Linked DNA regions of Homo sapiens: region 1 is linked to region 2. The links are contacts of gene promoters, found by promoter capture Hi-C in blood cells and fetal thymus (Javierre and others, 2016). All regions are on one chromosome and are shown on one strand. The core of a region is centred on a gene start or on the middle of the fragment in contact, and the rest is flanking DNA. Distances in the headings are between cores, read along the strand shown.

Region 1 (5,706 bases), core at 2,100-4,599, 230 kb after region 2:
GATGGAGTCTAGGCAAGCAGGGAGAAGCTGAGGGACCCTCAGCTTTGACACCAAAATATATAGAGGACATGAAAGCTCAGAGCTAGGTTGCTTAGGATTGGAGCTTTAGACAAGTCGATCATCACCAAAGCAAGAAGTCCTCTGAAACCAAAAGACCCTCTGGCAACTCAAGGTTGCTTTATATTCTTTTCTGAGCATCCCCTTTAATTTTCTCAAGATCTTGGTTATTCCACCCTTCCTGGTGGTACCTGCTTCCCAGGACAAGGCTCTGAGGTGTCTGTAAGCCCTGGGGAAGGGTCTGGTATGGCAAGAAATTCTTTATCTGTCAGTCATTCTGCATCTCCTTAGACCACTAGGCACCCACTGTGCTGTAGGCTGAACCAGCTCCCTGGCCCAGCCAGGGCAATGCAGAAAGGAGAGATGGGTTTCATTTAGTGAGAGAACACAATTTCTGCTTTTAGAAAAATGATCTTTTATGTGATCCATGATTTATTCATAGAAAAGCACTGTGAATTCACACACTTGCTAAAAAAGGGCAACTGTGATACAGAAATGAGAGTGGCTTCTCTCTTTTTTTTAACCAACCCATTGGGCTGAGACGTAGGGGCCCTTGGCTGGACAGTAAGACTTGAGTAGCCACAAATGGCAAATACAACTTCTTGGTCAGTTTGGAGTAAAAAAGGTGACAGTTTGTCGAAGAAAGAAAAAGTAAAGCAGATGGAGAAGTTCTTAGTTCACATTCTAGCTATACCACCCCTTCCCTATCAAACCCCACCCCCAACTCAGGAACTAAGACATGAAACAGTAAACACCAAGACACTGGTTCCAACTGACTTTTCTGAGTGCCCTTGCTACCTCCTATAACAATTCCAGGCTGAGCACAGGGGTCAGGAAGGTAGCAGGAACATGATACACTATGGAGGTCAGCCAGGGCTAAGACAGGACTGCCCACTAGGGCTAGAAATTAGGAAGGGAGAGGCTAAGTGCAGACCAGCCCTAGCCTCCAAGTCAGCGAGCAATGAGACTGTGACAAAAGCCGGCGAGGAAGCTTGAGGTAGAAAGGCAGGGGAAGAAAGCAAGTATGAGGCGAGAAGAGAACTATGGAGCTAAAGCAGCCAATCTGATGGCAGAGGGAGATTGGTGCTTAGAAGCTTGTTTGGTGAGAGAATGAATAGAGGAGGCACAGAGATGGGGAACAAACGTTTAGCTGGCGAGAGAGATTTAAGAGGAATGGGAAAGAGAAATCTGGCAAAAAGGACACATTGATGCAGATCCTCAAACATGAATACACAGACATCCCTACATGTAGAAATACGCTCAGTTACACATATAAAGACACAGATGCATGGATAACAAGCATACACATGGATACAAACATGTTTATACACATGCACTCGTGTACGCAGATACACATACTAAACATGCACAAACATGAGTGCATTTGCACAAAGATGTGCATCCTCACATGTACACAAAATGTGTATATCCTCACGTAGAAACTCACAGTCCAGTGTGCACATATTCAAACAGGTACACAGCCATAGAACTGACACATACACATAAATATATATGTGCACAAACAGGCATGCACAGATGTATCTATGTACATACACACATGTACTTAGCCATAAAGATACACACACACAATTATAGATGAAACCACACACTTGCTAACACAAAGGTGACCACAGTAGATGAATATTATGAACTCAGCGGCTTCCCAGACCTTCATCTTCTCCCTGCACTTGTTTCTCAGGTGTTCAGCAGGCTCCTGAAGAGGCTGTGTGAGGCAGGAGCTTCAATGTCCTCACAGTTTTGTGAGGCAAAAGTCTAAGTCCAGTCCTGGCCTCTGTCCCTCACTCACCACTGGACTATAAATGCCCTGTCTGTAGGTGGGGGATTCTGCATAGACTAGACTTGGGTTGATCCTAACTGGCCATTTTTCTCCTTGGCACCCCCACTCTTCCACTGCTACCAGCAAACACTCTGCAAGGGAAACCTGAGAAATGGTTGTGAGTCTCCTCAGAAAATAAGCATATCCTCCTACCCACAGCTACTTCAAGTGCCCATCAAATCAGAAGCAGAATTATAAATAGTTACAAGTTTACAATAATTAGCAACACATATAGTATTTACAGTCCCACAAATGTGTCTGTTTCTCTGGTTAAGCAATCCCTGAGATGGAACAGTGTTCTGTGTTTGCCAAGGGAGACAGGGCCAATGCTCAGGACACGCAGGATATAGGGGCATGAGGTGGCATGTTGTGGGGTTTCTGGTCGATCTGCAGGGCCCAGCTCCTCCATGAACAGTAGGCTGTAGTCAGAAGCTTGCCAAGGTAGGCATTATCGACTAGAGCTGGACTTTCCCCATCCTTAGCCCTGTGGTCCTTTGGCCTCATCCACAGGTGCTCAGAGTTCTCTCAGGGTGGACAAATGTTTCAGTGCCCTTGGCCTGACCTGATACTACCTGGGAACCCAGGCTGCTCTGGCAGTGAGCTATCTGCTCTCTCAGCCAAAGCGCTCTCGCACCAGCAGCATCAACTTTTTCTTGCCTTTGTAGATCTGTTTGAGGTTGTCGATGAACTGGGCAAACTGCAGGTGGCCATCCTGGGGCAGCAGGAAGGTCTCCCGAGCCTTGCTTAGAAACTCAATGAACTCTCCATAGTGGCGAGGGCTGATGTGTGTTAGGCGTGAGTGTGTAGTGTTGATATAGGCATTGATGGTGGCATCCAGCAACTGGCGCAATGGAGCTTTGTCAGTGGACATGAGCTTTCCAGAGCTTCGGCGGCCTGGGATGCCGGCCAGGCCAGGTGCAGTCACTGTGCAGCGTCGTAAGATGTCTGAAAGCACTGTGGCACAGTGCACACTCTTCACCACCAGGGGGATGAGAGCTGCCAGCTCATTCTTGCCCAGAGAGTGGCTGAGAGCACAAGCCCAGAGCACATCATTGATGGCTGGGTGAGTATCCTGGTTGTAGGCCAGGTTAAGATGGCTCATGGCCAATGAGGCCAGCTTGAAGGCACGTAGCGGGTAGCCACGGAGCTCCATGTAGCGGGCGATGGTGAACAGCTGTGAATGGGTCATACCACCAGCAGCAGCATCAATGGCAATCTGGTAGGCTGCCTCAAAGGCAATGTGGTCTTTCTCACAGAGTGTAAGGGCTGACAGGGCACAGCTCTGTGGATCCTTCATAGCACACTGTAGAGCCAGTGTGCGAGCACAGCTAGCCAGTTCCTCCCGCTGTGGATAGTCAAGACTGAGGCGCAGGATAGTGGTGTGGGATACGGCTGTGGCAGCTACAATACTAGTAGCCTCAGTAGGGGTGAAGAGTGTGTACCAGCTCTGCAAGATGCTCACCAGGGCCCGCACACCTGTCAGGGGGAGCCTGAGCTCAGCCGTGGCCATCTGGGTCCTGATTCAGGTCTACCCAGATTACCATTTGGGGTTTGAACTTGGCCTGCAGAGATGAATTCTTCCTCCTCAGCAACCTTGAGATGATATGAGGCAAACCAGGGCAAGGGGAGCATCCCAGATGGCCAGACCCTGTTTGGGGTCTCTTCCTATCCCTTCTTTCCCCAGGTCAGAGAGTTGAAGGTTTCTGCAGGTGCTCTTAGCCCCTCACAAGGATGGGACAGTAGAGCCTGGGGTTTGCTTGCCCTGAGGCATGGGTTACAGATCTGCCAGGGGTTCTAGCTGAAGTGGGGCCTCTCAGGGTAGAGTCTTGTGCTGGGGCTTTGGGCTTTAGAAAGGGTCCTGAGCCTCTAAGTTGTCTGGAGTTTTTTACAAGCATGCACAGGGATGGGGACCAAACCACTGGGCCCACTACCTCCCAAGGGAGCACTTGAGTAGCAACTGAAAATTCATTCTCTTAGACATGTCTCTGTTGAGAGGATCAAGGGCTGCTGACATCAGGATATGGTTCAAGCAGTGAAGACAGGGCTTGGGCTGGCTGAACAGAGGCCACCTTCTCCTACCAGCAGCCCCATCCTTTCTTAGGCCATCTCCTGATGGACCTAAGATCTCATAGGAATATGAGAGCTCTAAGGATTGATTGTCCTGTCCCAAGAGTAGGGCCTAGAAACTCCTTTCCCCTGGGGGTAGAGGGAGGTGGGAGACTCACCCACTTCTGTAGCACAGGTCACCAACCATCGTACCATCTCCCTGCGTCTCCAGTTAAGGGTTGATAAGGTCATCCGCATCACCTGGGCACAAAAGAGGCCTTTCCAGTGGGCTATGCCTAACTGTTGTGACCTCTCCCTCCCCTTGCATTCATTTATGCGACAAATATTTTCTGGTGCTTTAAACAGTGGTCTCTCCGCTGATAAACATAAAATACAGTTAATTTCTTTCCCAGCCCTCCCACCAATCAGATAGGAAGCTTCTCTGATGATCTGCAGCAAAGTCCTTATTATCATACCTTGCTTGACTTGTAGAAATGGGGAGGTAGAGAGAAGATAGGGACCCCAGGGAGCCTAAAGCTTTATCTTGCTTCTGGCCTTAACTTAAAAGTGGAGCCCAATTTATGAAATCCTTGCCTTTTCCCTAGCCTAGAACTTGTGTTCTGGGCCCAAAGGAAGAGCCAGACTTGGCCTATGCCCAGTCTCCCAGAGATCTTATCTTCTGCCAACTGTCACTAGGTCAGCGGTCTAAACTGTGGATGGCCTACTCTTCCTCCATACCTGTAACCCAAGTTCCAGGGCAACGTTGAGCAGGGTGCTGTCAGTACTACTGTCGGTGGGAGTAGCAATCTTGAATGCATCTTGGGCCAGTTTGAAGATGAGGGAGGAAGAATGAATGTGCTTCTGTATTGCTTCCAGAATTGTTCGGAGTCTCAAAGTGTCTCCTATAGGTGTCAAGAGAAGGGGCAGGGTCTATTTTAAAGTTTTACTAAACAGTCAGCTGACTGCAATAGATACTCATTGAAATGGCTGCTATCAATTCATTGAATGCTTCTGAATGCTACCGCCCCTTCTGGGTTATCGAGCTGTCTCCACTAATCACATTTGAGGCTCCTTCCTTCCCCAGACCCCCATGTGAATCCTATTCTCTCCACCTTTTCATCTGTCTCTACCTAATACCCTCTACCCTCAGGATCCTTTTTTTTTTTGGAGACGGAGTCTTGCTCTGTTGCCCAGGCAGGAGTGCAGTGGCTTGATCTCGGCTCACTGCAAGCTCTGCCTCCCGGGTTCACACCATTCTCCTGCCTCAGCCTCCTGAGTAGCTGGGACTACGGGCGCCCGCCACCACGCCCGGTTAATTTTTTGTATTTTTAGTAGAGATGGGGTTTCACCGTGTTAGCCAGGATGGTCTCGATCTCTGACCCTATGATCTACTGCGCCGGGCAACCCTCAGGATCTTTAGGTACCAGAAATAATTTTCTTGAACACCTTAATTTCCAGAGCTACTTATACAGTAGACAGAAAGTCACATTACTGCCAAAAAAGAACGGCAGTCCCACTGTCTGCTTCTCACTACAGCACCCTGGGGCAAAAAGGAGCGGGGCCACCACTTCTTATTCAATAGGCAGGGATTCTATACAAAAAACAAAGAGTTAAGGAATATAACATCATATGAGGTGAAGGTTGCTGGATGAAGGCAGTAGTGTATGAAAGACTGTTATATCTTATAAAGGACAAATACATTAAGTAAAGATAAAACAAAAAGTAGGCCTTATGTTTTGCTTTGTAACTGCTGATAAAGTCAAAGA
Region 2 (6,048 bases), core at 501-3,000:
GGCTGTGGGCCGGACCCCCAGAGGCTCCCGGCGGGCGGCGCACCTGCGTCCACCACGTGCTCCATGGTGGGGAAGCGCTTAAGCACGCGGGTGCTGACCGAGCGCAGCACCAGCACGGACGCCAGGTTCGCGTAGCGGATGAGGGTGCGGCGCAGCAGGCGGCCCCGCTGGTCCACGCCGTGCACGCTAGCCGAGATGACGCACATCAGCTGGTCTGGCAGCGGGATGCTTGTGTACTGGGACCACCAGCGGTTCACCACGAGAGTCACATAGAAACCTGCTTGGCCGCCGTGATAGAGGGAGTAGGAAGGGAGAGTGGAGAGCCTGGGGGTCGGAGCGCCTCACCTCCCCCAGCAAAGGGCCTGGTCCAGGCCAGTTGAATCGTGGCAGGGGGAAGGAAACATTCAGCTCCAGTGCCCTGCTGTGCGAGGCCAGGAGGAGGGAGGAGGGCAAACTTCCTTCAGCAGAGGGAAAGTGGGGATTCAAAGCCAGGAGACTGCTTCCCAGGAGGGTGGGGAAGGGGTTGTCACCTCTGTCCAGCTCCCCTGCAGTGCCCAGGGTGGGCTTGTGAGGCCAGCAGGTGTCTTGTGCCTTGCTGGAAGTGAGGGTCCGGCAAGTGATAGGGCCCTGCCCTCTGGAAGTCCTGGACCCAGCACCCAGCTCCTGTGCCTGCTGGGCCTGCTCTGGCTGACCAGGAAGGCTCTGCCACCGTGTTGAGTAATTCTTTTTTTTTTTTTTTTTTTTTTTAGCAGAGTCTCGCTACATTGCCCAGGCTGGACTGGAACTCCTGGGCTCAAGCGATCCTCTCACCTCAGCCTCTCGAGTAGCTGAGACTGCAGGTGTGTCACCACACCATCTGTTGGGTAATTCTGACCCTCGGAGCTGTCAACCCAACCCAGAGGTCAGGGAACACAGTAAGGGGGACACAGGGAAAACTAGAAGGGAGCCTTACCCAATACAAAGGACAAGGGAATGAGGTCTGCTGAGCGGTTGCAGTACCGGGCCACCTGAGCATACACGTACCTCTGCTCCTGGGTCAGCAGCAGCCTGGGGAAGGCAGGTGTAGGCTTGGGTTAGAGGGAGGTGGGTGGCCCAGTCTCCCCACTTGCGCCAGCTCTAAGACCCTGCCCTTACCGGTAGGTGATGCTAAGCACAGCGTACAAGGCCCCAAAGAGGAGGAATTCCTTGTAGAGGAGCTTGTAGATGCTTCCCCTCCAGCGGAGAAGCAGGCCAGAGAAACCTCCGAAGCGGGCCTCCGCCACTTTGAGAGTGTATGAAACCGTCATGGTGCTGGGAGCCTGGGGCAGGAGGTCACAAGAGTTGCCCCCAGGGCTGTCGTTTAGTTCTCCAGACAACCTCCCTTCCACTCTGGTCTCACACACCCCAGCCTTCACCCTGCGTCAGTGGACAAGGGGGTAGGAGCCTGCAGAGCAGAAAAGTACACCCCACCCCCTGCAGAACTGAGCAGTACATGGGCAAAGCCAGGCTAGAGTTGGACAAGGTAGAACTGAGATCTGTGTCCCTTCATGCATGAGGTTTCCTCAAGCTCCTCTTCAGCCTGCAGGGCTAGGGATAACCAGATCCTGAACTGCTGCGGACAAGAGACGCAGCTCCAGCCCAAATCCACTGCTATTCCTTGGGGCCTTGCTTTGGAAGCTGATTAACTAGAACTACCAGGGCCCAGGGCACTCTCACCCCCATCCCATACCTGCCTACCTGCTCTGGGCAGCAGCCCGTGTGGAAGATGAACTGGGCTAGACTTCAACCCCCACAGACTTAAGTACCTCTGCAGTCCATAAAGTTAGGCTGGACTGAGGCCTATCATTGATGGATTGAAGCTGTCATCCAGCTTCCCCTGGTGCTGGGAACTGGGTGTGTCTCCTTACCCCTGTAGGGTTGGGCTGGCCTTCGAGTGGCAGAAATGCCAGCTATACTGACCCCACAGCTCACACAGACGACACCATGTCCTTCAAGCCAGTATGACAGGGGTTATTGTCCCACGTTTCAGGTGGGAAGACAGATGCATGATAAACTGTTATAATAATACCAGCTGCTGATCACAGAGCACTGACTAAGTGACAGGAACCATGCCAAGGGCACTACTAGGTCATCCTCTCAAGAAATCCTCATCACAGCACCATGAGGTAGGGAATCAATCATCCACATTTCACAGATGAGGCTCCAAGAGGTAAATGACTTGCCCGCCGTCGGCCATACAGCTAGAACATGTTGGAGGCAGGATTCAAAGCCAGGGCTGATGGACTTCCAAGGCTGGAAGTGGCCTAGCAAAGGCATGAGCTCCAGGACCCATCCTGTGCACTGGCCACACTCCCAGTCTTCTTGTACAGGGGCTTGGGGGCTTGGCCAGGCTCTTCTCCATCCATGCCACGGGGCTGACAGCCACAGATCTGGAAGCTCAGGCCTAGGAGTGCAGGCTCCGTTAAGCCCTGTGTCCAACATCCTGACTCCTAGGGGTGCCCAAGATTTGAGTGGCCACTTTCACCTCTGGAGGAAGTAATACCTAAGGCGCTGATAGAAATAGAACTTCCGCTGCCAGGCAAGGTGGCTCACACCTGTAATCCTAGCACTTTGGGCAGCCTCAACGCAGGTGGATCACTTGAGGTCAGGAGTTCGAGACTAGCCTGGCCCAACATGGTGAAACCCTGTCTCTACTAAAAATACAAAAATTAGCCGGGTGTGGTGGCACGAACTTGTAATCCCAGCAGGTACATGGGAGGCTGAGGCAGGAGAATTGCTTGAACCTGGGGAGGCGCAGGTTGCAACGAGTTGAGATCGTGCCACTGCACTCTAGCCTGGGTAATCAAAAAAAAAAAAAAAAGAAAAGAAAGAAAGAAAAAGAAAAAGAAAAAGAAATAGAATCTCAATGGGAGAATCGCTTGAACCCGGGAGGGAGAGGTTGCAGTGAGCTGAGATTGTGCCACTGCACTTCAGCTTGGGTGACAGAGACTCTGTCTCAAAAAAAAAAAAAAAAAAAAAGGCCAGGCACTGTGACTCACGCCTGTAATCCCAGCACTTTGGGAGGCCGAGGCAGGCGGATCACCTGAGGTCGGGAGTTCGAGATCAGCCTGACCAACATGGAGAAACCCCATCTCTACTAAAAATACAAAATTAGCTGAGCATGGTGGCACATGCCTGTAATCCCAGCTACTCCGGAGGCTGAGACAGAAGAATCGCTTGAACCTGGGAGGTGGAGATTGCGGTGAGCCGAGATCATGCCATTGCACTCCAGCCTGGACAACAAGAGCAAAACTTTGTCTCAAAAAAGAAAAAGAAAAAGAAAAAAGAAAAGAAAAGAAATAGAACCTCAAAGTGGAAGAGAATTGGCAGCTTACTTACCCTCCCAGTGCTGAGGTAAGTGAACACTGAAAAATCCCAAGAGTGGTGGTCCTGCCTCTGTCTTGTTTTGGGAAGCTCCTCCCCCTACACTGTGAGCTGGTTCTCTTCTGCAAGTTTCCTAAAGATAGGAAGCATAGAGAGGTGATTAGGAGCACAGGCTTGGGAATTGGACAAACCTGGGTCTGAACCCCAGCTCTTTGTAACTGTGCAAGTTACCTAATCTCTCTGAACCTCAGTTTCCTCCTCTGCAAATCAGAATCAAGAACGCCTAACCTCATGGGGCAATTTTGAGTATTCACAGAAACAATGCCTATGGCCTAAAGCACTGTGGGTGGTTGGCTTGGGCTGCTGTTACTATGAAAATTTGAATCTGTTCTCTTTGGTTTCCCACGACTGGTCCAGTCTTGCCTACCAAGCCTTCCAAGCCAGACAGTCCCTGAGAAATGAGGAGGCAGAGACCTTTTCTTCATGTCCTGCTAACCTGCCCCAGACCAAACAGTGCTGGATCCTGGCTTTTAAGCTGAATACACAAGGCCCTCTGAGACTTACCCACCTCTACCCTCATCACCAGTCTCTGCCTAGCTCATATAAAATTTTTTTTTAATTTTAATTTTTGTGAGTGCATAGTAGGTGTATATGCCTAGCTCATTTGTAACTGTTCCTTCAAGATGTGGCTCAGAGCACCCTCTAGGAAGCCTTCCATGATCTTCCCCAGGTTACTCCTCAAAACCCTCTGGGTTTTCTCTCTTGCAGCAGTTAATCACAGTGGTCTATGATCTGTTTACAGGGAGATCTCCCCTCTAGCCTGTGAGACACCTGAGAACAGTTTTGAATCTGATTCATCTAGGTAAAGCTAGATTACAGTGGCTCATGCCTGTAATCCTGACACTTTGGGAGGCTGAGGTGGGAGGATCACTTAAGCCCAGGAGTTTGAGACCAGCCTGGGCGACATAGTGAGACCTGTCTCTACAAAAAATTTTTTTAAATTAGCTGGGTGTGGTGGTGTGTGCCTATAGTCCAGGTACTTGGGAGGCTGAGGTGGGAGGATCACTTGAGCCCAGGAGTTTGAGGCTGCAGTGAGCCATGATACAGCCATTGCACTCCAGCTTGGGTGACAGAGTGAGACCCTGTCTCAAAACAAAAACAAAAACAAAAAAAGAAAAAGAAAAAGCTGGGGAGGACTTGAAACCAAGCAAGCTTCTTTTTCTTTCTTTCTTCTCATCCTTCCCTCCTTCTTGCCTCCCTCCACCCCCTCTTTTGTTCTCCATTTCTCTCTTCCCTTTTAAGATGAAAGACATCTGGTCCCCCACCCCACCCCTGCTATTTTGTGAGATTTCCCAGATGAGCCAAGATCTGGAAAACTACTCATGGCCTGACTGGCGTTACATTCTCCATGGGAGATGTCAATATGAGGAAAGAACAGGACTCAGAGAGAGAGAGAGAGAGAGAGAGAGTATGTGTGTGTGTGTGTGTGTGTCTGTGTGTGTCCAGGACCTGACCTGGGGAGGGTGAGATGCCAGCTCCTGGGCCTCAGGCATCATGGCCAGGCAGTTCATTCTCATGCTCTGATCTGTGGCTTTCCTAGAGCATCTGGGCTGCTTACCACTTAAAGATGTTCTAGGACTTGGAAAGCCAGGTCCTGGGAGTGCAGGAGCTCAGGCCGTGTCTCCCTGACAGCTCTACCCCAGGAAGACCAGCTGGCTGCATTTCAATCCTGCACCGCCACCCGCACCTGTGGCCCTCACACCTCTGCTTGTTCCCAGCCCTGTGGTCTGTGAATTTCCCACAGAGCCCGGGATAAAAGTACGTGACCTGAAGCCTCTGCCAGAGGAAGAGGGCGGTCCCCAGGCCCACCCAGTCCCTACCTCCTGAATCACCTTATCTCCTTCTCAGCTGTTGACCAGTCCCTTTGTTTATGGTGCAGGAGAGGGAACCACTCAGCCCATAAATCACCTGCCCCACCTTTCCTTATCCTCCAGCTCTCCTCTCCCTCCCTATTGGTCCTGCCCACCCATTCCCCTGTCCCCTCCTCACAGCTGAGAAGTGGTTATATGGCTTGGCAGTGAAATGGATTCCGGAGCCACACTGCCCAGGTTCCCAAGTCCATGCTTCACCATGGTCACCAAAGTCACCAAGCTTTGTGACTTTGGGAAAGCCATTGAACCTTTTAAATTCCCCATGAGAGGCCGGGTGCGGTAGCTCACGCCTGTAATCCCAGCACTTTGGGAGGCCGAGGCAGGCGGATCACCTGAGGTCGGGAGTTCGAGATCAGCCTGACAAACATGGAGAAACCCCATCTCTACTAAAAATACAAAATTAGCTGAGCATGGTGGCACATGCCTGTAATCCCAGCTACTCCGGAGGCTGAGACAGAAGAATCGCTTGAACCTGGGAGGTGGAGATTGCGGTGAGCCGAGATCATGCCATTGCACTTGAGGTCAGGAGTTCGAGACCAGCCTGACCAACATGGCAAAATCCTGTCACTACTAAAAATACAAAAATTAGCCGGGCTTGGTGGCAGGAGCCAGTAATCCCAGCTACTCAGAAGGTTGAGGTGGGAGAATCGCTTGAACCTGGGAGGTGGAGGTTACAGTGAGCCCCAATCATGCCATTGCACTCCAGCCTGGGCAACAGAGCAAGACTCCATCTCAAAAAAAAAAAAAAAAAAATTCCCCATGGGAACACGGGGAT

The links. The method cuts DNA at HindIII sites, captures the fragments that hold promoters and counts their contacts. A CHiCAGO score of 5 or more calls a contact.
Region 1: a contact is called between a fragment that was not itself captured here and the fragment with the promoter of BEST4 in region 2, in 1 of 17 cell types (neutrophils). The highest score is 6.4, in neutrophils.

The regions. Positions count from the first base shown.
Region 1 is chr1:45,015,947-45,021,652 of GRCh38, forward strand. ZSWIM5 (zinc finger SWIM-type containing 5) reads right to left here. Exons shown (of 14, transcript NM_020883.2): 12 at 4,679-4,842; 13 at 4,120-4,201; 14 at 453-3,370. The coding sequence ends at 2,508. Among named protein-coding and RNA genes, the nearest start is that of UROD, 6.5 kb to the left of the region's middle. The HindIII fragment of the contact is 2,051 bases long and covers 2,325-4,375 here.
Region 2 is chr1:44,786,420-44,792,467 of GRCh38, forward strand. It overlaps BEST4 (bestrophin 4), which reads right to left and starts at 1,751. Exons shown (of 9, transcript NM_153274.3): 1 at 1,135-1,751; 2 at 953-1,047; 3 at 44-277. The coding sequence starts at 1,286. RefSeq lists enhancers at 1-293, 203-292, 294-979, 5,252-5,943 and a silencer at 1-82. The HindIII fragment of the contact is 5,761 bases long and covers 1-4,552 here.